Regions from separate parts of the Homo sapiens genome. Here region 2 is linked to region 1. The links are contacts of gene promoters, found by promoter capture Hi-C in human tissues and cell types (Jung and others, 2019). All regions are on one chromosome and are shown on one strand. Each heading gives the region's core, a stretch centred on a gene start or on the middle of the fragment in contact. The rest is flanking DNA. Distances are from core to core; before and after follow the strand shown.

What was found. Contacts are between HindIII fragments. The study calls those that stand out against the background at their distance.
Region 2: a contact is called between a fragment that was not itself captured here and the fragment with the promoter of KRT83 in region 1, in 2 of the 25 tissues and cell types used here (dorsolateral prefrontal cortex and mesenchymal stem cells).

Annotation. Positions count from the first base shown.
Region 1 is chr12:52,317,546-52,324,750 of GRCh38, reverse strand. It overlaps KRT83 (keratin 83), which reads left to right and starts at 3,353. Exons shown (of 9, transcript NM_002282.3): 1 at 3,353-3,799; 2 at 5,387-5,595; 3 at 6,781-6,841; 4 at 6,975-7,070. The coding sequence starts at 3,416. The HindIII fragment of the contact is 13,306 bases long and covers 1,273-7,205 here.
Region 2 is chr12:52,105,658-52,112,963 of GRCh38, reverse strand. SMIM41 (small integral membrane protein 41) reads right to left here. Exons shown (of 3, transcript NM_001369216.1): 3 at 4,709-5,585. It overlaps SMIM41-AS1 (SMIM41 antisense RNA 1), which reads left to right. Exons shown (of 4, transcript XR_007063312.1): 2 at 6,963-7,306. It also overlaps the pseudogene OR7E47P. Among named protein-coding and RNA genes, the nearest start is that of SMIM41-AS1, 8.9 kb to the left of the region's middle. The HindIII fragment of the contact is 8,588 bases long and covers 1,763-7,306 here.

The sequences.
Region 1 (7,205 bases), core at 2,104-4,603:
GTGACTGAAATGAGAGCTGCAGCCATATTTCCAGGACTCCCAGATCTAATGACTTCACTGCAGCAGGCTTCCCATGGAAATGTCACTTCCACAGCCAGGTGAGCAACAGACCTGTGGCCAGGCACACCTGGAGAAGACCAGAACAGTCCCCTTTTACTCAACGATTTCACCTCCAGGAATTTGTTTTAAGGAAATTACTAGACAGGTGCCCAAAGATGTGTTTACTAATGTTCATTTCAGAGTTGTTTATCAAAAATCCATTAAGAAGGCACAAAAAATGTGAAGCAACATGGATATTAAGGCAAGAAAGAAGTGACAAAAGTCAGAGTATCAGAGTGTCAGAAACCCAGCAGACAGGCAGGTAGACACCAGAAAAGCACACAGGAATAAGGCCAGGGGGTTGCACCCCAAGAGAGACAGGTGGGAATCTGAGGACCAGATCAACAGGGCAAGCGGTCATTCCTCCAGGCCAACCCAGACCAGGTGTGAAGGGCAGGCACAGAGTCCAGGCCCTGGTGACTGAAACAGCCTGTGGCTCTGCCGGACCCTTTATGGGCCCATGGTTAGGGCGGGAACCAATCACAGCCTGGAGCCCAGGAGGGAAGAGGCAGCCTGGGGATTTGGGTGCTGCTGTCTCTTTGTCAGCTTCCTGTCTAAGTCTGTTTTCAAGGGACTCCTGGTCTGCAGTTCTCTTTGTTCTGAGCCATTTACAAATAGATGCTCTAATTAAGGCTTTCTGAGGCGGCAATGATTGCCTTGTAAAACTGCTTTCTGCTTACCCAGGAATGGTACTCTGCATCTCACTAGCCGTGTACACTGTCCCTTTGCAAGGCCCTGCCAGGTGCCTGCAACCAAGACCCAGTCACCCTGCTAGCACAAAGTGAGGTGGGGGTGGCGCTTCCCTCCACCAGGCACTCGCTCGGTCCTCCCAACCTCCAGCAAGCTGTGGATTACCATTTATATTTCACAAGTAAGGACCCTGGGGGAAAACGCCTGTGCCATGGCACAAAGCTAGTAAGAGATATAGTTGGGCTTCGAATTGTGTCTTTTTATCTCCAGGGTCCATGCTATCTTCAGAGCCAATCAGGGCAGGGGTGGGCATGGTCATGGCTCCCCCATCCCAAGGAGGTCATGTGTCTACACAGAGCCCCTCGGTGGAGGGGTCCAACATGATCCAAGCCTGCTGGATTGAGACAGATGAGCCAGGTCAGAAGACAGCAGCGCAGTTTCCAGCATCGTGATGGAGAAATGCTTCACAGAGGGTTCACTGCCCTGCAGTCCTCAGCATTTCACCAAGAAACAGATCCCCCATAATCATTGGATATGTGTGGAGAGCATTCCAGGTGCTCACTGGTTCCAGTGTGGGTGGGTGAAGAGCCTGGTCTTTCTTGGCTGTCTAGCAGATGTTTGACCCAACCAAGACTGAACATGACAGCACCAGCCAGCCCAGCCTCCCTCAAAGATGCTCCCAAAATCCCACTAGCCACTCAGCTGCAGTCAGCCACCCCCAGGCCCCCCAGGTACCCTCAGGCTGTGCCTCCCTGGTGTGTCTTTCACACCAGGATCCCCTATCACACAGCCCACACCCCCAGAGTTCCTGCCCCAGACACAAGACTCTGGAAGCCTGTCCACAGGACCCAAGAAGAGAGGCTAGGAGAGTCCTTTTTTTGGATCCATGGCAGATGTCCAGCTCCCTAAGAGATTTCAACAGCACCATCGCCTGCCCTCCCTCAGGCCCACAGAAGATGGGCCCCTCTTCCATCATCCCCAGATCCCCACTCTGGGATATAACTGGCCCACTCATCCTGAGCGGGAGTGGGAAGGGCAAAAGATGAGAGTCACAGGAGGGTTACTATTAGCCCAGAGTGGGTCAGTGTTGGGTTGTGGCTGGGTCAGGACACAGGTCCATCAGTGGAGTCCTCCTCATCCTCTCCTGACGAAAGCAGTCCAGAGATGTGTGTTTGGAAGGGTTGATGGGCTCAGGTCCTCGGGTTAAGGCAAACCTCCTGGCTCGGTCCGACTGTCCATCCATCAAAGCCATTGCCTGTCCTAACCCAAAGGAACAAGGGCCCAAAGTAAGAGAGCTTGGCTTTAGGAACAGCCACATGAGCTAGCACCCTTCTCTCACCCAGTGTGTTCTCTGAGGTGAGAGAGTGATCTCATTTAAGGACCCTGCTGATGTCCCTCACCTCCCGCACCTTCCCTCCTTCCTGGTGAGTACATACACCCCAAGACCCCATCACTGAGCTTCCCTGCTGGGAACCTAAAGAACACCAATCAGCCTGGACATTGTGAGGGCCTTCCCCCCATCTGTGGCTTCTCATCTTTCCCCCTAGCCAAATGTTGGCTCCCCCACATGCATGCTACCTCCAAACACCCCAGGTCTCTGTAGGATTTCCAGAACCTAGCACAGTGGCTAGTGCATAGTTGGTGGGCACCAAATAAGTATTTCCTGAATAAATGAATAAATGAATAAATGAATAAATGAATACACATAGTCTAGTCTGCAAATCAGAGCCAGACTCTTTTCTGGTCATCTCTCAATCCTGTACTACCCCACCCCAATCCTCCTCAAGCCCAGGTCCCCACTCTCCTCCATGAGTCCCTGGAGCTCTGAGGTATTCCACACTCCCCGCTCCTGATCCCATCAGCAATGACACCTGGAACTCTGAAGCATAGCCCTGGCACTGTCCTGAACTCTCTGAATCAGTTTCTTCCATGTCCCAGATGGTGTCCCTGCACTAGGAATACCCAAAGTGCAAAGAACATGCCCTCCTCCCACCCCAAATCTCTACCCCCACTCCCATCCTTGACCAGGCTCTGAGCAGGAATAGGATAGGAGCGGCCAATCTTGACAATGAGGAAAGGAACCCGCCTTTGAGAAAAAGACAGGAAAGCCTACAGCAAGAGGTTGTCTCAGAGGCAGCCCCCTCCTTGGGACAGGCCAGCCACTCCACCCCAGGGCTTGGCCATGGGTCCAGGGCCCATAGCCTAGCTCTGCCCCTTTCAGAACAGGGTTCAGAGAGCAGGCTTTACCCCAGGTCACTGCACCCATTCCCCTCGCTTGGACCGCAGAATGCAACTAATGCTTTCAGGAACCCCTCTCCCCGCTCCACAGCAGTGCCAGTGGGAGGGGCAGGAGCAAGGAGGAAGCTTATAAAGGGCTTTGAAGATGAAACAGGGCCCGTGGCCAGGGATTGTTGATGCAGCCACACTGAAGAGGCAAGCAGGGTTCTAGCTTAAGAGGCCAGGGTGATGCCAAGCCAATAAAATTCAGCTATTGTCTCTTTGCTCCCTCTTTTAACACCAGCTGCCCCTGGCACATAAAAGGGCCTGCCATCAGCCAGGGAGCACAGGCCCTTGGTTCCATCCTCTGCCATCTACTCCACTGTTCAGACACCTCCTAACCTCCGTCATGACCTGTGGCTTCAACTCCATAGGCTGTGGGTTCCGCCCTGGAAACTTCAGCTGTGTCTCTGCCTGCGGGCCCCGGCCAAGCCGCTGCTGCATCACCGCCGCCCCCTACCGCGGCATCTCCTGCTACCGCGGCCTCACCGGGGGCTTTGGCAGCCACAGCGTGTGCGGGGGCTTCCGCGCCGGCTCCTGCGGACGCAGCTTCGGCTACCGCTCCGGGGGCGTGTGCGGACCCAGCCCCCCATGCATCACCACCGTGTCGGTCAACGAGAGCCTCCTCACGCCCCTCAACCTGGAGATAGACCCCAACGCGCAGTGCGTGAAGCAGGAGGAGAAGGAGCAGATCAAGTCCCTCAACAGCAGATTCGCGGCCTTCATCGACAAGGTGGGTGTCGTCCTGGATCACACCCTTCCTGAACCCCTACTCATGTTCAGAACTCAGGCTGGGCACTGACAGGGAAGTCAAAGGCAAGAACTTGCCCACAGAAGTTCCCAGGCCAAAGGGAAAGGTAGTCATACTTCTAGGACACAGACAGAAAGACAAAAATGGGACCGGGAGCTACCAGACTGATGGGGGAGATTAACTGAAAACACAAAAGCAGAACGAGGGGCAGAGCCTTCCACACTGAGTGATAATATCACCTAGTGAGCAAAGGACCACTGTGTGGGCGCTCAGGGCATTTGAAGCCAAATAACTGCTTAAATGCCAAGGAGATGCTGTCTCCATCAAGGCAGGGCTAATAAGTGTGGTGCTGGAAAACTGTCTGGAAGTGGGTCTCGTGGATGGCACAGAACTCTTTCTATACCACACAGTGATTTGGCCACTGAGCAGGGTCTAGAGTATTTTGTCCAAGCCACTGTTCCTGGGGCTCAGGATCCAGGGGTGAGCAAGAGTCATGGTCCCCATCCTCACAGGCTTTATGGGGAGGCAGGCAGTGCACAGTCTGGGTTTGGTTGAAACCATCTGTGTAGTCAGTGTCCAACTAGAGTTTGCAGCCACCTTCTCCACTGAATCCAGGCAACCACCATGTGGCAGTGATGTGAGAGACTGGGAGAAAAGGCTCTGACTAGGAACATGTTCTGGGGTTGGAAAGAGCCCTCCAGAGCCAAAACCTCAAGAGAGGAGTCACACTAGAGAGATGCCCACCAGAAAGGATCGGGAAAAAAAAATGTGGAATTTCTAATAGCATGAGAGACCAAGGATAGCATAAGATAGGACCTACCAAGGGTGTGGCCAAGTTATTAGACAAAAGAAGCTGAGTGGAGTAGTGGGCCAACCTCATCGCTGGGAGAGGGATGTTCCTATAATTGTCAAAGGGAGAGAAGACACCCCCTGCAGCGCAGAAGATCGGAGTTTGAGCTCTTCTCTGCCACTGTGAGCTCTCAGGCAGTCAGGGAACCTCCTTGGCCTCATCAGTAAAATAAGGGGGTTGGAGCACAGGACATTCCTACTCTCATATTGCAGGTGACTATTATTCTAATTGCATTGTTGTTGTAGGGTTTGAATAATTGGCACATGCTTTATTTTTCAACTTTTACAGTTTGCCTTTCTAAAAAGGTCCACCTGGCTTGGTGTGATTGAACAGCAGTAGCTGTTCAGTGTGGGGTGCCTTTCTGTTAAAGGGTTCTTTTAATCCTCATAGTAAGGTGAGCTTTAACCTCGCCACTCTACAGAGGAGGTGAGTGCTTTATCCAAGGGCACAATGTTAACAAGTGGCAGCAGAATCTGGACTCTTCAAGCATTTTCCATGACACCAGGTAAACTGACTTAGAAGAGATTAACTCCCAGGAAGAACTTCCAGGTGGTGAACTGGTTAAGCCCTGGTGGCATTTTTGAGAGAGATGACATAACGCCTTCCAGGGAAGACTCTGGGTCAGAGAGTTGGGGGCTTTCAGGCCCTCGTGCTGGGAACCCCTCTTTGTCCTCTGATGCTGCAAGAAGAGGTTCTTAGGCTCTGCCTCTGGGTGGCAGGTGCGCTTCCTGGAGCAGCAGAACAAGCTGCTGGAGACAAAGCTGCAGTTCTACCAAAACCGCGAGTGCTGCCAGAGTAACCTGGAGCCCCTGTTTGCTGGCTACATCGAGACTCTGCGGCGGGAGGCCGAGTGCGTGGAGGCTGACAGTGGGAGGCTGGCCTCAGAGCTCAACCACGTGCAGGAGGTGCTGGAGGGCTACAAGAAGAAGTGAGTGTGGGCAGGAGGGGTTCTGGGCACAGGAAATAGCATGGTGGCAGCTCCCTGAGCCCGGAGGAGTATCCAGTCTGCAGCTGGCATCTCTGCCTGAGAGTGGAGAAGAACCTGTACCCCCTGTTTGAGACACAGGGGTCCCTTGGGTGTGGGGGATGGAGGCTCAGCTTGTCTTTCCACCAGCAGATCAGGGAAACAATGCTCTCTCCCTTTCTCCATCCATTTTTCACAAAAACTTGTATTCCTGGGTCCCTTTGAGACCAGATCTCAAAGTCCTGGACATGTGTCTTCCTAAGTTTGCTCTCTCACTCAGCTAACACTATCTGATCACCTACCACATGCAGCACGCTGTGCTGGTGATAGTGACACAGGGCCACGCAAGCCACACAGTGCGGGTTCTTGTGGAGCCTGCAGTCTGCTGGAAGGCAGTCATGACAGAGCCACAGATCTAGCCCTTCAGCTACAAAGTGTGATATATGGTATGAAGAATACGCACTGGATCCTCAGAAGGAATCTGCTTTTGAGGGGTGGCCAGCTTCCTTCAGTAACATTCTCTCCATGGACTCCCCAGGCCCAGCATACCCCTCCCTCCCTGTCTCTGAGCTGCCTCCCACAGCTCAGGCCAGGAGGGGAGAGACAGAGCGAGGATCCCACCACCTGCAGCTGAGTGGGGGCAGGGGAGGGCTCGAAGGAAGAAAAGATGGAGACCTAGGCGAGAAAAACAGCACCTCCCACTCCCCAACCACACACATTCACACACTCAGCTTCCAGATCCTGCTCTCCCAACCTCCACCAAAACAGGGGAGTGAATTAGCCAGGCGTGGTGGTGGGCACCTGTAGTCCCAGCTACTCGGGAGGCTGAGAGGGGAGAATGGCATGAACCTGGGAGGCGGAGCTTGCAGTGAGCCGAGACCGCGCCACTGTGCTCCAACCTGGGCGACAGAGCGAGACTCCATCTCAAAAACAAAAACAAAAAAAAACAGGGGAGTAGGCACTTCATTTCTCCAGTGCATCCCAGTAGTACCCAGGCCAGCAGCCTGGTTCCTGCAGAGCCCCACCCATTTCACTTGGGGGCAGGAGACAAGCAGGGGGAGGTCTAGGAAAGAGACTCCTTTGCATATATGCTCATGGCCAAGATCAAGAGCTGTTCAGACAAGGTCCTGTTCTCCCTGCTCACCTCAGGTATGAAGAAGAAGTAGCACTTCGAGCCACAGCAGAGAACGAGTTTGTGGCTCTAAAGAAGGTGAGTGAAGCCCAGCTGGCCCTGAGCCCGCCCTGAGTCCCGCCACCCATCCTCTTTGTCCTGCCACATGGCAGCCAGGTCCTCAGAGCCCTCTGAGGAAAGCCGGCCTCACAGCCCCTTCTACCCCACCCAGGATGTGGACTGCGCCTACCTCCGCAAGTCAGACCTGGAGGCCAACGTGGAGGCCCTGATCCAGGAGATTGACTTCCTGAGGCGGCTGTACGAGGAGGTGAGGGGCTCTCAACCATGGTGGGCACAGATCCCCCCATGGGATCCCTGACCCTCTGCCCAGACACCCACAGGCATGAACCAGGCCTGCTGACATATGAACCCAGGCTCACGGCTGGAGGGTTGGCAGGGAGCA
Region 2 (7,306 bases), core at 4,807-7,306, 210 kb after region 1:
AGTAATCCAGGGGGATGATTATCCTAAAGTCACAGGGTGTGTACACCCTGTGATATTATTCATATTATTCTAGGGGGATGTTACTCCTAATGTCGCAGATGTGTATGCGCTGTGATATTATTCACAATATACTAGCTGGATATTGTTACTAATGTCACAATGCGTGTACACCTTGTGATATTATTTGTACTATCCTAAGGGGATGTTACTCCTATTGTCACAGGGGGTGTGCTTTCTGTGCTATGATTCGTAGTATCCCAGGGGGATGTTACTCCTACCATACAAATTGTGTACACTTTGTTATATTATTCATAATATCCTAGAGGGATGTTGATCCCCATGTCACGAGGGTGTACATCCTGTGATGTTATTCTTCACATTCTAGGAAGATGTTAACTCCTAATATCACAGAGGGTGTACAATCTGTGAAGTCATTCATAATAGTTTCAGGGGATGTTACTCCTAATGTCACACGTAGTGTACAAACAGTGATATTATTTGTAAAGTTTTTTTGGATATGTTACTCCTAATATCACAGGGGCTGTACACCCTGTCATATTATTCTTAATATCCTAAAGAAATGTTACCACTAATGTCACAGGCAGTGTACACCGTGTGGTATTATTCCCAATATTGTAGGGTGATGTTACTCCTAATGTCACAGAAGGTGTTCACACTCTGATAACATTCGTAATACCCTAAAGCGATGCTACTACTGATGTCACAATGCAGGTACACAATCTGTTATTATTTCTTATATCCTCAGGCGATGTTACTTCTAATGTCACAGGGGTTGTACATTTTGCGATATTATTCGTAATATTTTAGAGAGATGTTACTCCTAATGTCACAGAGGGTGTACACCTTGTGAAGTTATTCATAATAGTTTTGGGGGCTGTTACTCCTAATGTCACCCGTGGTGTACAAACAGTGATATTATTCATAATATTTTATGGACATGTTACTCCTAATATTGCAGGGGCTGTACACCTTGTAATATTATTCATAATATCCTAAAGAAATGTTACCTCTAATGTCACAGGGGGTGTACACTGTATGATATGGTTCCCCATATTGTAATGGGATGTTACTCCTAATATCACAGGGGGTGTTCACACTGTGGTAATATTCGTAATATCCTAAATGGATGTTACTGCTAATGTCACAACACGTGTACATCCTCTGTATTTGTTCGTTATATCCTTGGGGGAGGTTGCTTCTACTGTCACAAGGGGTGTACTCCCTGTGATAGTATTCATAATATCCTAGGTGGATGTTACTCCTCGTGTCACAGGGGCTGTGCGTTTTGTGATATTATTCACAATATCCTAGAAAGATGTTACTCCCCAGGTACACCCTGTGATATTTTTCGTACTATCCTAGGGGATGTTACTCCAAATGTCACAGAAGGTGTACACTCTGTGATATTACTCGTAATCTGTCAGGGAAATGTACTCCTAATGTCACAGGGCATGTACACCATGTGCGCACAGCCCTTGTGATGTTATTTGTACTATTCTCGAGGGATGTTAATCCTAATATTCCATATGCTGTTAACCATGTGGGAACACCTTTGTGGTATTATTCCTAACATACTAGAAGGATGTAACTCCTAACATCACATGGGGTATACGCCATGTGTGTACACATTCTGTGATATTATTCATAACATCCTAGGGAGATGCTACTCCTAGTTTTACAAGGTGCATACGTTATGTGTGTACACCCCCTCTGATGTTATTCATAATATTCTAGGGGAATGTTGCTGCCAATGTCACAGGGAGAGTACGCCATGTGTATGCAACCCTGGTAATATTATTTCTAATATCTTGGGGGGATGTTGCTCCTAATGTCACCTGGAGTGTACACCATGTATGTACACCTTCTGTGATATTATTCATAAATCACAGAAAAATATTATGCCTAATGTAACAGGATGTGTACACCGTGTGCGTCAACCGCCTTTGATATTATTCATAATATACTAGGGGGATGTGATTTTTAATGTCACAAAGGGTGTACAAAATGTCACAGGGTGTGTATGCCTTATGATATTATTCCTGATATCCAGAAGGATGTTACTCCTAAGGTCACAGGGGGTGTACACCCTTCGATAATATTTGTAGTCTTATAGGGAGATATTCCTGTAAATCTCACAGTGGGTGTACACTACACCCACTGTGAAATTATTTGTAATATCTCAGAGATATTACAGAGTTATAGCTCTCTGTGTTATATTAGAGAGTTACATCTCTCTAAGAAAGTACAAATAATACCACAGTGGGTGTACCTTATGTGTGTACACCCACTGTGATATTATTTGTAATATCCATGGTAAACATTACATCTAATATCACAGTGTACTCCCTTTGATATTTTTCATACTATCATAGGGAGATATTGCTTCTAATATCACAGTGGGTGTACACCATGTGTGTACATTCTGTGATATGATACCTTATATCCTAGAGAGATATTTCTCCGAATATCACAGTGTGTGTACACTTTGTGATATTATTCATAATATCCTAGAAGGATGTTACTCCTAATATGACAGAGGATGTACACCCAGTGATATTCTTCGTAATATCCTAGGGAGATGTTACTCCCAATATCACACGGGGTATACACCCATTATATTTTTTGTAATATTCTAGGGGGATGTTACTTTTAAAGTCACAGGGGGTGTACACCCTGTGATGTTGTTCACAATATCCTAAGAAGATGTTACTCTTAATGTCACATGGGGTGTACAACCTGTGATATTACTCGGAATATCTTATGGGGATGCTACTCCTAATGTCACAGGCTGTGTACACCCTGTGATATTATTCGGAATATCCACAAGAGATGTTACTTTTGATGTCACAGACGGGGTCCACCCTTTGATATTTTTTGTCATATCTTAGGGAGATATTACTTCAAATATCACAGTGGGTGTACACCCATTATATTATTTGCAATACCCTAGGGAGATATAACTTTTAATATCACAGTGGGTGTACACACAATTTGTGTATCCTAATATCCTAAAAATAAATAGGACACCTAATATCACAGTTGGTGTACACACTGTGATATTATTCGTAATATTCCAGTGGGATGTTACTCCTCAGGTCACAGGGGGTTAATACCCTGAGACAGTATTCCTCATATTCCAGGGCGGTGATACTCCTAAAGTCACAGGGTGTGTACCCCCTGTGATATTATTTGTCCTATTCTAGGGGAACGTTACTCCTAATGTCACAGGGAGGTACACCCTGTGATATTATTCATAGTATACGAGAGGGATATTAGTACTAATGTCACAATGCGTGTACACCTTGTGATATTATTCATAATATCCTAATATCACAGGGGGTGTGTTCCCTGTGATATTATTCCTAATATCCTAGACGGATATTGTTCCTAACATCACAGGCTGTGTACCCCTTGTCATATCATTCATAATATCCTAAAACTACGTTATTCCTCATGTCACAGGGGGTGTTCACCCTGTGATATTATTCGTAATAGTTTTATGGGATGTTACTCCTAATGCCACACGGGGTGTACACAGAGTCACACAGTGATATGACCTGTAATATTCTATGGAAATATTACTCGTAAATCACAGGGGCTGTACTTCCTGTGATATTATTCTTCATATTCCAGCGGAATGTTACTACTGTTGTCACAGGGGGTGTACACCCTGTGATATTACTCGTCATATCCTAGCGGGATGTTACTACCAATGTCACAATGCGTGTACACCCTGTGATATTATTTGTAGTATCCTAAAGAGATGTTACTACTAAGGTCACAATGCATGTACACCCTCTGATATTATTCGTTATATCCTCGGGGGATGTTACTCCTAATGTCACATGGGGTGTACTCCCTGTGATATTATTCGTAATATCCTAGGGGGATGTTACTTTTAATGTCACCGGGGGTGTATATCATGTGTATTCAACATCTGTGATACTATTCCTATATCCTAGGGGCATGTTCCTCCTAATGTCACATGGGGTGTTCACCATGTGTGTACACCTGCTGTTATATTATTCATAATATCCTAGGGGAATGTTACTCCTGATGGCACAGGCGGTGTACACCATGTGTGTACACCGCCTGTGTCATTATTCATAATATCCTAGGGAGATGTTTCTTTTAATGTCACAAAGAGTGTACAAAATGTCACAGAAGGTGTACAGCTTGTGACATTATCTGTAATACCCTAGAAGGATGTTACTCCTAATATGTCACAGGGGTGTACACCCTTTGATATTATTTGTAATCTCATAGAGAGATATTACTTCAAATATCACAGTGGATGTACACACATAGTGTATACCCTGTGATATTATTCATAATATCCTAGGGAGATACAACTCCTGGTATCACAGTGCGTGTACCCCGTGTGTGTACACCCTTGATATTAGTCGTAATATCCAGGGTAAATATTACTCCTAATATCACACAGTGTGCACACCCTGTGATATTTTTCATAATATTTAAGGGAGATACTGCTTCTAATATCACAGTGGGTGTACCGCATGTGTGTATACTCTGTGACAGTATATTTTATATCCTAGGGAGGTATTACTCCTAATATCACAGTGGGTGTTCACCCTGTGATATCATTCTTATTTGACCTTGCTGCCTTTTTTAACCCACACTACAAAAGGAATGGAACAGATAAGAAGATATTGAGATTAGACAGTGCTGCCGTGCGGCCGCCGCAAGACACTTTTAATATCCCTGTTTCCCAGGCTGTAGATAAAGGGGTTGAGCATGGAGGTGACCACCGTGTACATCACTGCAGCCACTGCACCCTTTCTGGGGGAAGATGACACATCTGAACTGAGGTACCCTCCAACACCTCTTCCATAAAATCAGCAAACAACTGACAGGTGAGACCCACAGGTGGAGAAGGCTTTATACTTCCCACCTGATGATGAAACCCTCAGAATGGAGGAAACAATTTTATAGTAAGAGAAAAGGGTCCCCGAGATGGGAAGAAAACCAAATATGGCAGTAGGGAAATACATGATTATGTTATTGATGAAGGTGTCACAACGGCAAGATGGGGGAGTTGAGAAAGGTCACAGAAGAAATTAGGAATGTCCACCTCCTTGAAGCAGGTCATTAGTAAGGCAATCAAGTTGTACAGCTGGGAGTCTAAAAGACTGAGAAAAAAAAAAGACAGCAAAACTAGGAAGCCACAGAAACACAGGTTCATGATGGCTGAATGATATAGAGGGTGACAGATGGCTACAAACCGGTCATAGGCCATCACACTCAGGAGCATGTCTCTCTTCCGTGCCTCCAAAAATGGCAAAGAGAGACTTCTGAGTCAGGCAGCCTGCATAGGAGATGACTCTGCTGCGAGACTGGATGTCCACAGTCATCTGGGGGACCGTGGTGGAGGTGAAACCGATGTCAGGCAAGGACAGGTTGGAGAGGAAGAAGTACATGGAGGTGTGGAGGTGGGAGTCAGGGCTCATGGCCGGATGATGAGCAGGTTCCCCAGCACCATGACCAGGCACATGGACAGGAACAGTCCAGCAAGGACCAGCTGCCGTTCTGGATCCTCTGAGGTTCTAGGAGGAGGAATATAGAGACATCTGTTAGATTCTGTGGGTCTGTATAGTTTGGACAACTTTTGCCTAGAAAAGAGCGTTGAGAAATCAGAAACAAGTAAACCAACACCCAGCATTGTGTCTGCATTTTGGATACAAGCAATTCACAAGTAATGTTTTCAGATTCCAGAGCAATCCACACTCAGGAATATTTTGCAGTTCTGACAAAATGAATTGTCTTATAATGCTTTCATCATTGATTCTGTGTTATTCAGTTCTTGCTGTACATACCTGCCTTAGAGACACTAGATTCAAGAATGTTCCAAGAACCAGATCATCATAAATAACAAATTCATAATTGCTAGAAAATACAGCCTATCTTTTCCGAAGAAAAATATGTAATAAAACCATTCTCTTCACTTTAAGAAAAAGGTTATCCTAACTAAAGAAAATTAAGAACTCAAATATTTTTTATTCTAATAGATTGATACAAATTTCCTTGATTTAGAACATTTATAAACACTGTATAACAGCTGAGACCATGCCATCTGGAAATGAACTTAAAGTTGATAGTTCATAAGCAGAAAATAGTTCCACATGCGAGTTAGGTCCTAGTGATTTCATCATTATGTTTTCTGACTTTTCTCCTTCAAGAGAGTAATTGCTTACTCAAATCGGTGGGTCTTGTTTTAAAATTCATGTAAGCTATAACTCCTGTCCTTAGCTTAGGGGGACTTAGAGTTTTCATCAGAAAGTTTGGCCAAACGCGGTGGCTCACGCCTGTAATCCCAGCACTTTGGGAGGCCGAGGAGGGCAGATCACGAGGTCATGAGATCAAGACCATCCTGGCCAACATGGTGAAACCCCGCCTCTACTAAAAATACAAAAACTTCACCCGGTATGGCGGAGGGCACCTGTAGTCCCAGCTACTCAGGAGGCTGAGGCAGGAGAATGGCTTGAACCTGGGAGGCAGAGGCTACAGTGAGCTGAGATCACACCACTGCACTCCAGCCTGGGCAACAAGAGCAAAACTCCGTCTCAAAAAACAAAAAACAAAAAGAATCACGTAAGTCGAAGTCACACTGATGACAGCCAATTTTTGTGAACCAAGGAAGTGTCAATTCAATAATTCACATAGATGTTTACTTTTGCTGTCTCCTATGTGCCAAGCAAGATGTAGGCTCTGGGGAGTCAGAAACAAAAGAGACTCACTTGTTCCTCTCACAATACTCAGTACTTACTGAGATAAGGACAAAATAAAATGTCCTGTCTGGAATGCAGGGAAACCAGAACTTCAGGTCAGGGGATATTTCCATTGAATTGTATGGAGTTTAAGCTTAAAATATTAACAAATGTATCTAAAATTCACTTTACCTTTACTTTATGCATCCATCATAGAGATCATGCAGCGGGAGCCCACGATCGGTTTAATCATCACTCACTTCCATTGGATCAACTACAAATCAACTCAGATGAGAGTGCTGAGTCTCAGAGGATGGACATCTCACCCCTTGCCATACAGATAAGTAGAAAGGATGGTATTCAAAATTAATGGCCAGACTCTAAGTCCCAGATACTATACTTCATGGTCTTCCAACTCTCAAAAAGTTGTGGGAGTTTTTTTTTGTTTTTGTTTTTGTTTTTTTGAGACGGAGTCTCATTCTGTTGCCCAGGCTGGAAGTGCAGTGGAGTGATCTCAGCTCATTGCAACCTCCGCATCCCAGGTTCAAGCTATTCTCCTG